Linked DNA regions of Homo sapiens: region 2 is linked to region 1. The links are contacts of gene promoters, found by promoter capture Hi-C in human tissues and cell types (Jung and others, 2019). All regions are on one chromosome and are shown on one strand. Each heading gives the region's core, a stretch centred on a gene start or on the middle of the fragment in contact. The rest is flanking DNA. Distances are from core to core; before and after follow the strand shown.

The links. Contacts are between HindIII fragments. The study calls those that stand out against the background at their distance.
Region 2: a contact is called between a fragment that was not itself captured here and the fragment with the promoter of MED28 in region 1, in 1 of the 25 tissues and cell types used here (dorsolateral prefrontal cortex).

What each region holds. Positions count from the first base shown.
Region 1 is chr4:17,611,987-17,619,063 of GRCh38, reverse strand. It overlaps MED28 (mediator complex subunit 28), which reads right to left and starts at 4,423. Exons shown (of 4, transcript NM_025205.5): 1 at 4,251-4,423. The coding sequence starts at 4,409. It overlaps MED28-DT (MED28 divergent transcript), which reads left to right and starts at 4,484. Exons shown (of 3, transcript NR_186331.1): 1 at 4,484-4,922; 2 at 5,026-5,132. RefSeq lists enhancers at 4,274-4,383, 4,484-4,773, 3,879-5,078. The HindIII fragment of the contact is 9,307 bases long and covers 3,205-7,077 here.
Region 2 is chr4:18,616,109-18,623,185 of GRCh38, reverse strand. The region is part of intron 1 of LOC105374510 (a long non-coding RNA gene); the gene reads right to left. Among named protein-coding and RNA genes, the nearest start is that of LCORL, 600 kb to the right of the region's middle. The HindIII fragment of the contact is 5,154 bases long and covers 1,299-6,452 here.

The sequences.
Region 1 (7,077 bases), core at 3,174-5,673:
AGAAGCCTCAAACACAGGAAAGTGGAGCTCTGTCAGCAATCAGCAAACTACACTTGGTGTGAGGCAGACAGATCTGAGCTCAAATTTAGAACATTACCTACATGTGAGGGCCCTTTAACGAGCAAAAATTCTGCCTGCCTGCAGCTCCCGCGCTTGATTTACAGAGAAAGTAAATCAGAAAAACAGATTGCCCATTCTCAGGATTACTTTGAACATTGACTCCTGGCTGGGCACGGTGGCTCACGCCTGTAATCCCAACACTTTTGGGAGGCCCACGCAGGCAGATCACGAAGTCAGGATCCTAACTAGGAAGGCAGATCCACGAAGTCACCATCCTAACTAACACGGTGAAGCCCCATCTCTAATAAAAATACAAAAAATTAGCTGGGCATGGTGGCACGTGCCTGTAGTCCCAGCTACTCGGGAGGCTGAGGCAGGAGAATTGCTTGAACCTGGGAGGCAGAGGTTGCAGTGAGCCAAGACTGCACCACTGCACTCCAGCCTGGGTGACAGGGCGAGAATCTGTCTCAAAAAAAACGAAAGTTGACTCTTGTTGGGTTTGGGATGTGGGTAGGATGTACTTCCTTTGTGAGACCTATGGCTACTGGAAAACATCCCATTAATAGGCCAACCAGTCACAAACTGGCCAAAAAAGTTGGGCCAGCTCCCCTGAGCCAGGAGGCCTACCAGACAGGGTGGCAGGAAATCTCATCTCAAGAATTTTACTGCCCTCCACCCACTCAAGAAAAAAATTTAGGGTCCGACATGGTGGCTGACGCCTGTAAGCAACAATTTTGGAGGCCAAGATGGGTGGATCACTTCAGTCCAGGAGTTCAAGACCAGCATGGGCAACGTGGTGAAACCCTGTCTCTACAAAAACAAAAATTAGTCAGGCGTAGTGGTGCGCACCTGTAGTCCCAGCCACTTGGAAGGCTGAGGCAAGAGGACCACTTGAGCCCAGGAAGTGGAGGTTGCAGTGACCCAACATCGTGCCATTGCACTCTGGCCTGGGTGACAGAGTGAGACTCTGTCTCAAAAAAAAAAAAAAAAGAAAAGAAAAGAAAAAAAAAAGATACACAGGCCTTTATAGACAGTTGGACAGCTGTATTAAGAAGAAAATGTGTGGTAGCTTAGAAAGAGAACATATATTTTTTTTTTGAGATGGAGTCTCACTCTATTGCCCAGGCTAGAGTCAGTGGCACGATCTTGGCTCAATGCAACCTCTGCCTCCCGGGTTTCAGCGATTCTCCTGCCTCAGCCTCCCAAGTAGCTGGGATTAAGGCGTGTGCCACCAGAGACCACTAATTTTTGTATTTTTAGTTAGAGATGGGGTTTCACCATGTTGCCCAGGATGGTCTCGAACTCGTGACCTCAAGTGATCCAGCCACCTTGGCCTCCCAAAGTGCTGGGATTACAGGCGTGAGCCACCGCATCTGCCTAGAAAGAGAACAGCTTTTTAAAAGCATGGCTAAAACAGAGCCTTTGCCTGGAAAGTAAGTGCTTGTCCTCATTTCCACAAACCCAACGGCTGGCTTTCAGCAAGTAACTTGCCCTCACTGAGCCTCAGTTTCTCTACCTATGAATGGAGGAAATGGAACTAGATGGTCTCCAACGTTCCCTCCAAAATCAAGAGTGCATGAGCTCAATAAATTCCTTCCATCAAAGAGCATGTGCTAAGCAGCTAGAATGAGCAGACAGAGACCTCAAGGAGTGGCACCCCAATAGGAATGAGAAGCAGGTAAGTAGGTGCTGCTATGTGCCACTGGAGGCTGTGAAAATTGAGGTCCACACAGAACACAAGGAAGGAAACAGGAAAAGTTCCAAAGAAAATGTGGCCTTTGAATTGAATCGTGAGACAAGACTAGACAGATCGTGATCACCCAGCAGCAGAGAGGATCCAGCTCGCACCACTCCCACTCCCCTTCACCTGGCTAAGTCAAAATGCTTCTTTGGCTTTCCTGCTCTCTGGGAAGCCTTCTTTGATGTCCACACCTATATGTGCTCCCACAGTACCCCAGGTTTCTTCTATCAGAGCAGTGATCCTACAACAAGGCAACTGCCTGCCGTTTATTACAAGCTTCCTGAAGGCAGGGACTGGTTTTCTCTGTATTCTCTGTATGGATAATCAAGTCCCAGAGGGAGTTCTCTCTCAAGGGCACCTACAGACATATATGTGAATCAGGCAAGGAGTTCTGTGCACAAGCCAACTACACTACAGGCTCCACACTACAGATTCCTTCAATGTCTGACAAATATTCATCTAGCACTTGCTATCTACTACCACTGTATTAGCACTACAGGTTACACAATGTGAGGGGTGGGGGTACAAAACAGGTAGTCTCTGACTTCATGGAGCCGAATTTAATGGTAAGTATTAAAAAGAAGGCCAGGGAAGGGTCCACTGAGGAAGTGATGCAGTGAGCTGAGGAGCGGCCTGGAAGCCCAAAGAGAAAACAAATGGTACACGTGGGAAAGTCTTGTGTGGCTGCAGTAAGGAAACGAGTCTGAAGGAGAGAACGCAACATGCAAAGCCTGGGAGACCACACTAAACATCTTGATCTTATCTCAAGGGCAACAAGCAGCCACTGTACGTTTTTAAGCAGCAGGGTGCTGGGAGTCAACTTTGGCTAAGACTTGTACAGGGCCAGTCTTTCAGCAAGTGCCCATGACTGAGAGCCAGCTCCCCTCAAGCACAATGCTAGATGCTGCTCTAAAGTTCACCAGCCCCTTCCTTTACCACTTAGCACCACCTCAAAGGTGTCTCCTCCTCCTCCTCCTAAACGGTCTGTCCTTTAAATCATTTATTTCTGGCTAGGCGCAGTGGCTCACGCCTGTAATCCCAGCACTTTGGGAGGCCGAGGCGGGTGGATCACGAGGTCAGGAGTTCGAGACCAGCCTGGCCAAGATAGTGAAGCCCTGTCTCTACTAAAAAATAAAAAAAATAGCATGGTGGCAGGTGCCTGTAATCCCAGCAACTCGGGAGGCTGAGGCAGGAAAATCGCTTGAACCCGGGAGGCGGAGGTTGCAGTAAGCCGAAATTGCGCCACTGTACTCCAGCCTGGGCGAGAGAGTGAGACTCCATCTCAAATCATTTATTTCTAAATCTTTGTACATCCGTGTGGTAAAAGCATTTTGTCCATGCAGTCTGAATAATCGCTTGCAAATTATATTCATTTACCACTGTGCTATTAGATACAATACAAAAGTCACAAAGTTGGGATTTTTATTTATTTATATTTTATTTTACTTTTTTGAGACGGAGTCGAGCTCTTGTCACCCACGCTGGAGTGCAATGGCGCGGTCTCCGCTCACTGCAACCTCCGCATCCCAGGTTCAAGCGATTCTCCTGCCTCAGCCTCTCGAGTACCTGGGATTACAGGCGCACGCCACCACGCCTGGCTAATTTTTGTATTTTTAGTAGAGTCAGGGTTTCACCATGTTGGTCAGGCTGGTCTCGAACTCCTGACCTCATGATCCGCCAGCCTCGGCCTCCCAAAGTGCTGGGATTACAGGCGTGAGCCACCGCGCCCGGCAAAACTGGGATTTAAAATGTGGAAAAGTTAACTCCAATTTGAACGTACATTACTTTATTACTACACAGGAATAGCTCATCTTCCACTTTAAAGACTACTGGAAATCACCAGAGCACTTATTTTCACCTCTCTATCTTCCCTCAATATACAGTTCACCTTTCTTGCTACAAGGTAAACTCCTTGGGCAAAACTGAGAGATTGGGTCACCTGTGCCTCCCTCCCTCCCTAACCTCCAGCATTCCTCCTTCCTCAGCTCTTAGTACCAAGCTGCGCCTGGTAACTTAAGTCAATTTCCGCTCTTAAGAGTCCCTTTAGGATCGTTTAAAGGTGAAGCCCAGCGGAAAGGATACAGGATACAGCAGTGAAACTCTCAGCTCCGAAAAGGCTTGAGCCTCTTACTAAACATGCAGGGATGCAAGAAACGGTGCTCGGGGATGAGACTAAGGACCGGCTGGGAATCTGGAAGGGTTCCAAGTTTGGGGTTTAGGCAAACTTCGGGTTCACGTTTCCACAAACGTCGAGTTTACGCGCCCCCGCCAGCAGACCTGAATTGAATACGGGCCACGGGGAAGCCTAAAGCAAGTGACTTACTTTAAGCCTCAGTTTCCCCATTTGTGAATTAGTTGCTCGGATCCCTGGAGGAGATACGCGTACGCGCAGTTCACGTTTCAGAAAAAAGGGAAGGCTAGGGACAAAGACGCCCATGTCTTATATTACCTCGAAAGATGACTCCAACTCGTCCACCAAAGTACTGCTGGAAGGTCTAGGAGCGCCTGGAGCTGCCTGAAGAAGCGAAGCTTGGCCCGGAAGGCCCGGCGGGGCCTGAGGGGGACCGGGTGGCTGCCCAGAAAACATACCCCCTAGTGGAGCCGCCATGTTTGGAATGGCGCAAGAGAGATCCACTGCGCCTGCGCGGAAGCCGGCTCAGAAGCTCACGTGGCTGGTGTAGTAGGCGTGGTCACGTGACAGGACCGAGCGATGGGAGGATTCTGGTGCACCCCGGAAGGAGGATTTTTAATTCTTCTGTTTTCTTGTCTATCGCAAAACAGAGTTTACATGTATTTTCCTTTTTTCTTAGCTTAAGAATTGAAGACTTTGGCCGGATTAGACCTGGTTGTGTGGAGAGGAGAATTAATAACTACAGTGGAGCGAGCCCTCCTGCGAGAGTCAGGATACTACTATGCTAGTCCCGACTCTGCCCCAAATGCCTGGAGAGACTTTGGCTAAGTCACTTTTTCTTTCCGCGGGCTGTTTACCGTTGGTAAAAGGAGAGGGTCACCCACTCACTCCACAAACATTTGTTGAGTCATTGGTTATAGCGGGAACAAGACAGGCAAAGTTCTTCCTGAATTCTGGTCGGAGATGGATAACGGAAACAACTTTGTTGAGGTTCCCAATGTGCCCGGCACTGATGTCTTTAAATATTTATGGTTACATCAAAGAGAAAGTCACTATGCTAATCTTTTTTTTTCTTTCTTTTCTTTTTTCTCAGGGTCTCGTTCTGTCGCCCTGGCCGGAGTGCAGTGTCATGATCAGGGCTCGACCTCCCGGGCTCAAACAATCCCCCTACTTCAGCCACCCAAGTAGCTAGGACCACAGGTGCGTGCAGTCGCGACGGGCTTTTTTTTTTTTTTTTTTTTTTTTTTTTAGTTGAGTCAGGTGTTTTACTGAGCTCAAGTGATTCTACCGCCGCGGCCTCCCAAAGTGTTGGGAATACAGTAATGAGCCAAGGCGCCAGGCTGCTAATTTTTTTTTTTTGAGACAGAGTCTCGCTTTGTCGCCCAGGCTGGAGTGCAGTGGCGCGATCTTGGCTCACTGCAAGCTCCGCCTCCCGGGTTCACGCCATTCTCCTGCCTCAGCATCCCGAGTAGCTGGGACTACAGGCGCCCGCCACCACGCCCAGCTAATTTTTTGTATATTTGGTAGAGATGGGGTTTCACCGTGTTAGCCAGGATGGTCTCGATCTCCTAACCTCGTGATCCGCCCGACTCGGCCTCCCAAAGTGCTGAGATTACAGGCGTGAGCCACCGCGCCCGGCACTAGGCTGCTAATCTTGTAGTAACCTGCTTTTAACATTTGCTTATCTCTCTCTTTTTTTTTGGTGACGGAGTCTCGCTCTGTCGCCCAGGCTGGAATGCAGTGGCGCGATCTCGGCTCACTGAAACCTCCGCCTCCTGGGTTCAAGCAATTCTCCTGCCTCAGCCTTCCGAGTAGCTGGGACTACAGGCGCCCGCCGCTCGGCTAGTTTTTCTGTATTTTAGTAGCGCCGGGGTTTCACCTTGTTGCCCAGGCTGGTCTCGAACTCCTGAGCTCAGACAATCCGCCCGCCTCGGTCTTCCAAAGTGCTAGGATTACAGGCGTGAGCCACCGTGCCCAACCTTCTTATTTATCTCTTTAAAACCAAATAACTTTTTTTCATTATATCTGATTTTACAGTTATTACCCAGCACACTTACTGAGCGCTCCACTTCCCAGGCACTATTTAATGATCTGGAGGTTATAGCAATCATCCCAAATCTCTGGAAGGAGACAGACAAGCACATAAATACATAGCAATATTGTGCAGAGAGAAGAGCTGGGAAGGAAAATGAAACCCAGTAAGGGGATGGCTAGTGAGAGGGGTGTTCTTTGAGATAGGTGATTGGAGGAGGCCTCTCCAAGGAGATCTGGACTGTAGTGACTGGCATGAAAATTTAACTAGGAGTGCTTTCTACACCGAAGGATCCCTGAAGAAGCAGCCTGCCTGGGATGTTTAAGGAACCACAGGAAGCTCATTGCCAGAGGAGTGAGCCAGGGCAGAAATGTTCAGAGAAAAAGCAGGAGCTTCCCTTTGCCAACCAGGCTCGGATCAAGTCATCTTCCCAGCCTCAGTTTCACTTAGATCCCCACTCCTAAGTACTTTCCCCTGTTTAATTTTCTTCACAACATTTATGTAATCTGAAATTATCTTGTTCATTTTTTCATAACTGAATCACCTGCCCTCCTCCTCCTTCTCTCTCTGTCATACACATGCCAACTAGAAAATAAGTTCCGTGCATCAGAGCCTGCCCATCTTATTCACCTGTATCCCCAGAATCTAGAATGGTGCCTGGCATAATAGATATAATAAATATGTGATGACTGAAAGAACCAGAAGAGACCGCCAGGAGGAAACAAGCCTACTCCAGCAGTTTTCAGACAGTTTTGGTCTCAAGACCCCTTTACACTCCTAAAAATTATTGAGGATCCCAAAGTTTTTGTTTATGTGGGTTAAGTCTGCTAATATTTATCTGATAAGTTAAAACTGAGAATTTTAGGCTGGAGGCAGTGGCTCATGCCTGTAATCCCAGCACTTTGGGAGGCCGAGGCAGCCGGATCACAAGGTCAGGAGATCAAGACCATCCTGGCTAACATGGTGAAACCCCATCTCTACTAAAAATACAAAAAATTAGCCAGGCGTTGTGGCGGGCGCCTGTAGTCCCAGTTACTTGGGAGGCTGAGGCCGGAGAATGGGGTGAACCCAGGAGGCAGAGCTTGCAGTGAGCCGAGATCATGCCACTACACT
Region 2 (7,077 bases), core at 2,626-5,125, 1.0 Mb before region 1:
TCCCTTAGCTATTTGATAGATTTTTTGCACTTTAATAAGAAAATCAAAAAAATTAAAAAGAACACATAATACAAAATAATTAGGTATATTTGTATTATTTAAATCTTGAATCTATTTCTAATCAAGCCCCTTTATTTATCTTCGATATATCTCTTTGTTCCTTTTTTTTTCTAGATTGCTTACTGCGAAGGTTTTATTTTTATTTGTTACTTTAAAGAAAGAACTTTTGACTTTATTTCTTACTATTGTATATTATTCCTGTTTCATTACCTTCTCCTATTTATATTAATTTCTTCTTTCTATTTTCTTTGGTTTTATTCTGTATGTCTTTTCCTAACTTCTTTAGTTGAATGTTTAGCTCATTAATTTTCAGGTTTTTTTCTTTTCATGCTATATATTTCTCTATATGTAATTCTCAAAATACCTACAAGTATGAATGTGTAGTATTTTCTTTATTTTTTAGTTTCAAAGAATATCAAGGCCCGGCCTGGTGGCTCACACCTGTGATCGCAGCACTTTGGGAGGCCGAGGTTGGTGGATCACCTGAGGTCAGGAGTTCGAGACCAGCCTGGCCAACTTGGTGAAACCCCATCTCTGCCAACCAAAAATACAATAATCAGCCGGGTGTGGTGGCATCTGCCTGTAATCCTAGCTACTCAGGAGGCTGAGGCAGGAGAATCATTTGAACCCGGGAGGCAGAGGTTGCAGTGAGCTGAGATTGTGCCACTGCACTCCAGCCTGGGTGACAGAGCAAGACTCTGTCTCAATAAAATTAATAAAATAAAATTAAATAAAGAATATCAAATATCTAAAAGATTTTTTGTACCAATTATATAGAAGCTGTTCAAAAAATTTTCTAAATGAATGAGATAACTGATTTCAAAGTCAATTGCTTTGTAGTCAATGCAACCTGGTCTGAATATTTTCAAGCTTCTGAAATGTATTAAGATTTCCTTTGCAATATATAGTACACGGTTCGTTGTTGTAAATACTCTGTGTGAAGAATATGTATTCTCTGATTCCTTAACTCAGGACCCTATGTATACCTTTAAATAAGACTCATTAACTGTGTTGTCAGAGTCATCTATATTCATCAATTACCGAGAGAGAGATATGTTAAAAATCACTCACTCTAATGAGAAATTGTACAATTTCTCCCTGTAGTACAGTCATTCTTTGCTTTATGCATCTCAGAATCAGCGTATCATCTGCCCACTCAATATTTGAATTGAGCACATAAAATATTTTTTGTTAATTAAACTTATTATAACTTTGCGCTTGGAGTCATTTCCAAGGATACAGGATAAGAGGGAGGATATTCCATTAAGCAGAAAACCCTCACTGCCCTGCCTCTAGGTGGTTGATATTGGTGGAGTTCCTTTCCTTTTCATTATGGACCAGGCAGAGACAACAGCTGAAGCTGAGAGTTGGAATTTTTGCTCCACTCTCAGGTGGAGATTCTTCCTTCAGTGCTGTGGCTAGAGTAGGTCCTTTCAGTGGATGAAAGTTTCTCCTTACTTCTTTAGGGAAAATGATTGTGAGACTGTCTTTGCAACTGACAGCAGTCAGACATGACACAAACATGAGATGCCCCTGGATTGAAGTCTCAGCCCCATCTTTACTCACCACGTGATACTGAGATATTCAATCAACCTCTCTCTGTAAGCTTCACTTTAACCAGCTCTAAATTGGTAGGAGGGAAAGGTGTTTAGGTTGAGAAAGAGAGTATTATAATTATTTAAGATAATCTGCAGAAATCCTACATCAGGATACCTGGAAAACACAGTCACTGAATAGACCTCAGTCAGCATTTATTTGCTTCTTTCTCTCTCATTTGTTTTAGTTTACAGGCTGAATTTGGTGGTGGTAGGAGAGAGACAAACTCCTAGATCTGTCCATGAGCTGTGAGAAACAAGCATCATCTTTCAGTGGAGTCCTGCTGCATCCTGGGACACAGTTTCTCAGGATTGGCTCAAGGCCACTCTTCAGTAAAACCATCTTACTCCTACCATGGGGAAATCATGCACTTTTCCCATCCATTTCTGCCATGACACACAGAGCCACTATTTGTTCAGATGAAAATGACATTATTTGCCATGAATCTTCCTAGAAAGTAACTCAACCACAGAGTTCCATGCTTGTTTCCCATACATGAAACTTAACATATATACATGAAGAAAAGTTGGGACTATATTTGCTTGGGCCACCGTAACAAAATACTTCACACTGAAGAGCTTAAACAACAGAAATTTATTTTCTCACTGTTCTGGAGACTAGGAGTCTAAGATCAGGGTGCCAGCATAGTTGGGGTCTGGAAGCGGCACGCTTTCTCTCTTGCAAATGGGCATCTTCTCTCTGTGTCCTCACATAGCAGAGAAAGGGAGTCCCAACTCTTTGCTGCCTCTTCTAATAAGGGCACTAATCCTGCCATGAGGGTCATACCCTTATAACCCCATCTAAACCTAATTATCTCCCAAAGGCCCCATCTCCAAATACCACTGCATTGGGGTTAAGCCTTCAACATATGAATATTGTAGAAACATAATTCAGTCCATAACAGACATCAAGTAATTACTCCATTTGGTCTTTGACTCACAAAATCCTAAAGCCATGCATTTACTGCGCATGTTACAGGCCTGCCAAAAACTACCTCAATTTAACCTATTTAAAAAAAAATCCTTTGAGCATCCAATACAGAGCAGCTGAAAAAGCAGGTTCCTTTAAAAATTTGATTCACTGAAAATGAGAGATGCTGTGGCATGTGTGCGGCTATCCAATTCAGAAAATGTTTGCCTTAAAGAAATACTTCTCCTTACCAGAAAACAATGGAGAGGGGCATTTGCAGTTCCAACTTCTTTAACTACATTTGTTTTTAAATCAAACACTTGTAAAATGTGTCAAATTATAAAGGCAACCTGACTTAAGCTCTGCAGTGTAATTTACTGATTTTTCACTCACCTTGCTGAAACTTACAGTCCAGCTCTTGAGAAAGTGGATGTTGCTGAACCCTAAGCAGCTAGGGTTTGGGGAATAGTATAGAGAGAAAAGAGAAGTTCCAGCTGGAGATACTGTCTTCATCTCTGAATTCCTGTGGGGATATGTCTATCACCTCTTCTCAGGCATGTATCACTTTAGCTTTGATATAGAAGGTATTTACGTGTGGCTGACAATTTCATGTCCCAGTGGATAGAGGAAATGAATGTGGAAAAGCACTTACATTTGACCAATGAGAAAGAATTGGTTGGTGAAGTGGATGTGACAGGAACTGGGAAGAAAATGTTCTTCTTACATACACTGTTCTCATTTCTATGACAATCAAGACAATCAATTTCAAACAGTCTATCTTGACACCCCCAAAAGCACATAGGTATTTGTCAGGTTACATTTCCTGGTTTGAGTTCCAGGTAATTTGGTCTGAAACTGGGTTCATTTCCATTTTCGGTGTTTTGGGCTGACTTCTTTAAGACTAGAAAATCTAATGCAGTGACTCAGAATAGAGAATCAGTACATTTGTTTTGTTAAATAGATAATAAAAACTTGAAACTAGGAAGAGGCTCATGAATACAAAAATCTGAACCCTTCCTGTTTTCTCCTCTTAGGGAAGTAAAGTTAGAATTTCTGCCTAACTTTATCATCTCCTTCTGCTTTATACTAACACCTAAGGCAAAACAAACAACAAATATTGATTGATGTTTCTATGGGCTAGGGAGGAGAGCTCAAATTTCTAGCACCTAAATGCTAGGCAATGTATTTGACATTTTTTGCATGCCATTTAATCTTCAAAATAACTCTACAAAATGAAAATTAATATTTGTCATATAACTGAAGAGAAAGCTAAGATTGATGGAGATTGGCCAGGCTCATGCCTGTAATCCAAGCACTTCGGGAGGTTGAGCGGGATGGATCACTTGAGGACAGAAGTTCAAGACCAGACTGTCTAACTTAGTGAAACCTCCTCTCTACTAAAAATACAAAAAAATTAGCTGGGCATGGTGGCAGGTGCCTGTAATCCCAGCTACTCCTGAAGCTGAGGCACGAGAATCACTTGAATCCAGGAGGCGGAGGGTGCAGTGAGCCGAGATCGCACCACTGCACTCCAGCCTGGGCAACAGAGCAAGACTCCGTCTCAAAAAATAAGAAATAAGTAAATATTGATGGATATTGAGCAGAGCTAGGATTCCAATATTAAAAACCTCTAAGCTAAGTGCCTTGACAGGATATAAAGCAATACTCATTCTGAACCTCACTGAAGCTGTATGGCCTAATTAGGGGGACTCACAGGCTTTTTCAAACTTAGAACTCAAAGATCTCAGCATCTAATCTACTAAGTTTGTCATAGACATGAAACAAAAGCACAGATTCCTACAGAAGCGGGACAGGGACCAAACAGCTAGTAATAGCCAGTCAGTCTAGAAATAGGGCCTCCTGACTCACAGGTTGGCAGGGTGATGTGCCTTATTTAGTCTTCTCACTGCGTCTTCCATGTATTCGGGAAACAAGGATGGTGACACATGGTCCCCTCTGTTCATACTTTAGTTGGGAAGAAAGAATATGGCAAGTAATCACAACACAATGTTAGACTAGAGAAAGGGAATAAGAAGCTCTATTAATGAGAGCATTTCTTAGTATTCTTGCCTGCTAGTGAGATTAAGTCAACTCTATCTAGTTAGGCCAAAAATACTGGTGAAATTCAGGGAAGATTTAAATAACCAATGTAATAGAACAGGGTGGCCTACGGACTTCATGTATGGCTAGAATGGGGAACATAAACACTGCCGTGACTCTCTAATTATTTTTTCTTTTACACCTTTGTGTATTTTAGCTTCACTGTCTCTCACTTCAGAGCTATAGGCAGGAAGTGTGGAGGCACACAGGTCCCAAAAGCAGTCATGTCCTTCCAACTCAGTGCTTGTTATCCCCACTTCAAACCCTTTCTTCCAGTCACATTGAAATAACCCTGGTTCTCAAGGTAATACACTTTCTTGCTGACTTGAAGATCTTTTTTGTATGATATTTCCTCTACCTCAAATGTTCTTCTACTTCCTGGTCTTTAATAAATGCTCTTCATCCTCAGATATCAGCTTAGAAATCACTTCTTTCACAGACCCCACTAATCCAGGTTAAGTTCTCCTCTTTTCATATCACTAGAGTGGTGTCTACCTAATCTTTCTAGCTCTTTATCACAATATGGGGAATTTTTTTCAAAAAATAAATCTCTTCTACTAGATTGTTAACTCTTTTGGGGTAGGGACTATGTCTCTCTCATTCAGAGTTATAATCTAAATTTGTAACATAGTACCTGACATATAGTATCCACACATATGTGTTGAATTAATGAATACAATGAATATGTAGTAAATGAAGCAAAGCTTCTGTAAATGTCTGAATGACCCATGTTCTCTCAGGTGTTTTCATGTTTAATACATCATCTTGGAATGCACTCCCCTTTGATGTTTCTGGCCAACCATTCCCAGAGCAGCAGTCGTCCCCTCTAGAAAAGCTTCTCCATATCCCTCTCCACCTCCCAAAGCTATTTCTGTTGCCATACTTCATTCTTCCGACTTCTATAATGGATAGATTTTCTGTTCTCCTCCACCAGTTTATGAGCCCTTCCAGAACAATGTCCTGTTTGTCTTTGCAAACCAGCTCCTAACATTTAGTAGACAAAATACATTCTCATTTAATGCACTGTATGTAAATGATAGATGGATGATTATAACAAGCTATTTGAATATTTATCTGTAAATGTTACATTGACTCTGTTAGAAAATTGCCTTTTAACACAGTTTTTTAAATCACTTCTTAGACACTGGCCACATTACCAGTATATGATGCTATTCTTGTCTCAAAATCAAGGCACTGAAGTCTGCCATTTGGGACCTGTTGAGGGACCTGTGAAAATCAATTTCCTACAATAAATTGTCTTAAGCTAAAGGTCAACACACTTAAACTGAAACTCAAAGGTTTCTTTAAATTCACTGAAACAAGCCCTTTCATTTGGCATATGCTTCCCAAGACAAATTTTCTCTTCCAAAATTGGAAGAGGCCACATCTATGTTTTAACACTGATTTGTGAATATTCCCTGGAATAATTTATATCTTTTTAGTTTTGTTTGTTTGTTTTGTTTTGTTTTTTTTTTTTTGAAACAGAGTTTTGTTCTTGTTGCCCAGGCTGGAGTGCAATGGCATGATTTCGGCTCACTGCAAGCTCTGCTTCCTGGCTTCAGGTGATTCTCCTGCCTCAGCAAGTAGCTGGGATTACAAGAGCGTGCCGCCACGCCCAGCTAATTTTTGTTGTTAGTAGAGACAGGGCTTTGCCATGTTGGCCATGCTCGTCTTGAACTCCTGACCTCAGGTGATCTGCCAGCCTCTGCCTTACAAAGTGCTGAGATTACAGGCATGAGCCATCGTGCCTGGCCCCTTTTAATGTTATGGTTTATGAACTTATTAAAGTGCAAAGATTTTATGATCTTTCTAACTGTAGAATAGCATAGCTTGTTTATTAAACTGCAGAGTCACTGTAGAGGTCCTGATTCTTTGATTTAGCTTACTATAAAGTAGGAATAAATAAACCAATCAATAAGTAAATTTAAGTATCTTTAACTTTGCTGATTGTGACCACTCATCTATGGGATTTGGCCCACGTGAAGCAGATCACAGAATGTGGTTGCTTCTACTGTTTTCCATAGGAAATCCAGTCATGTTCATAACCCTATACTACTTATTAGATCTGTTCTGTGAAGATTACATGGTGGTTCTAAGACCCTGGAAAGATCAGCTTTTGGATAATAGAAAGTAATTATTGCAGCTTCTAGTTATGCTTTCCACTTTGGAAAGTCACTGCTCACAACAACAGAAAAAAGAGAAGAGGTTTAACACCAACATTTAAATGCTCTGGCCCAGAGGCAACATGTCACGTTTGCCCAATATCATAAGCTGGAAATACTCATATAACAACACCTAACCCCAAAGTAACACAGAAATCCTCAAACATACCTAGAAGTAGAGGGGAACCAGATATCAGAAAAGAACAATGATGTCTGCAACTCTAATCTTCACCAAGTGAACAAATAAATT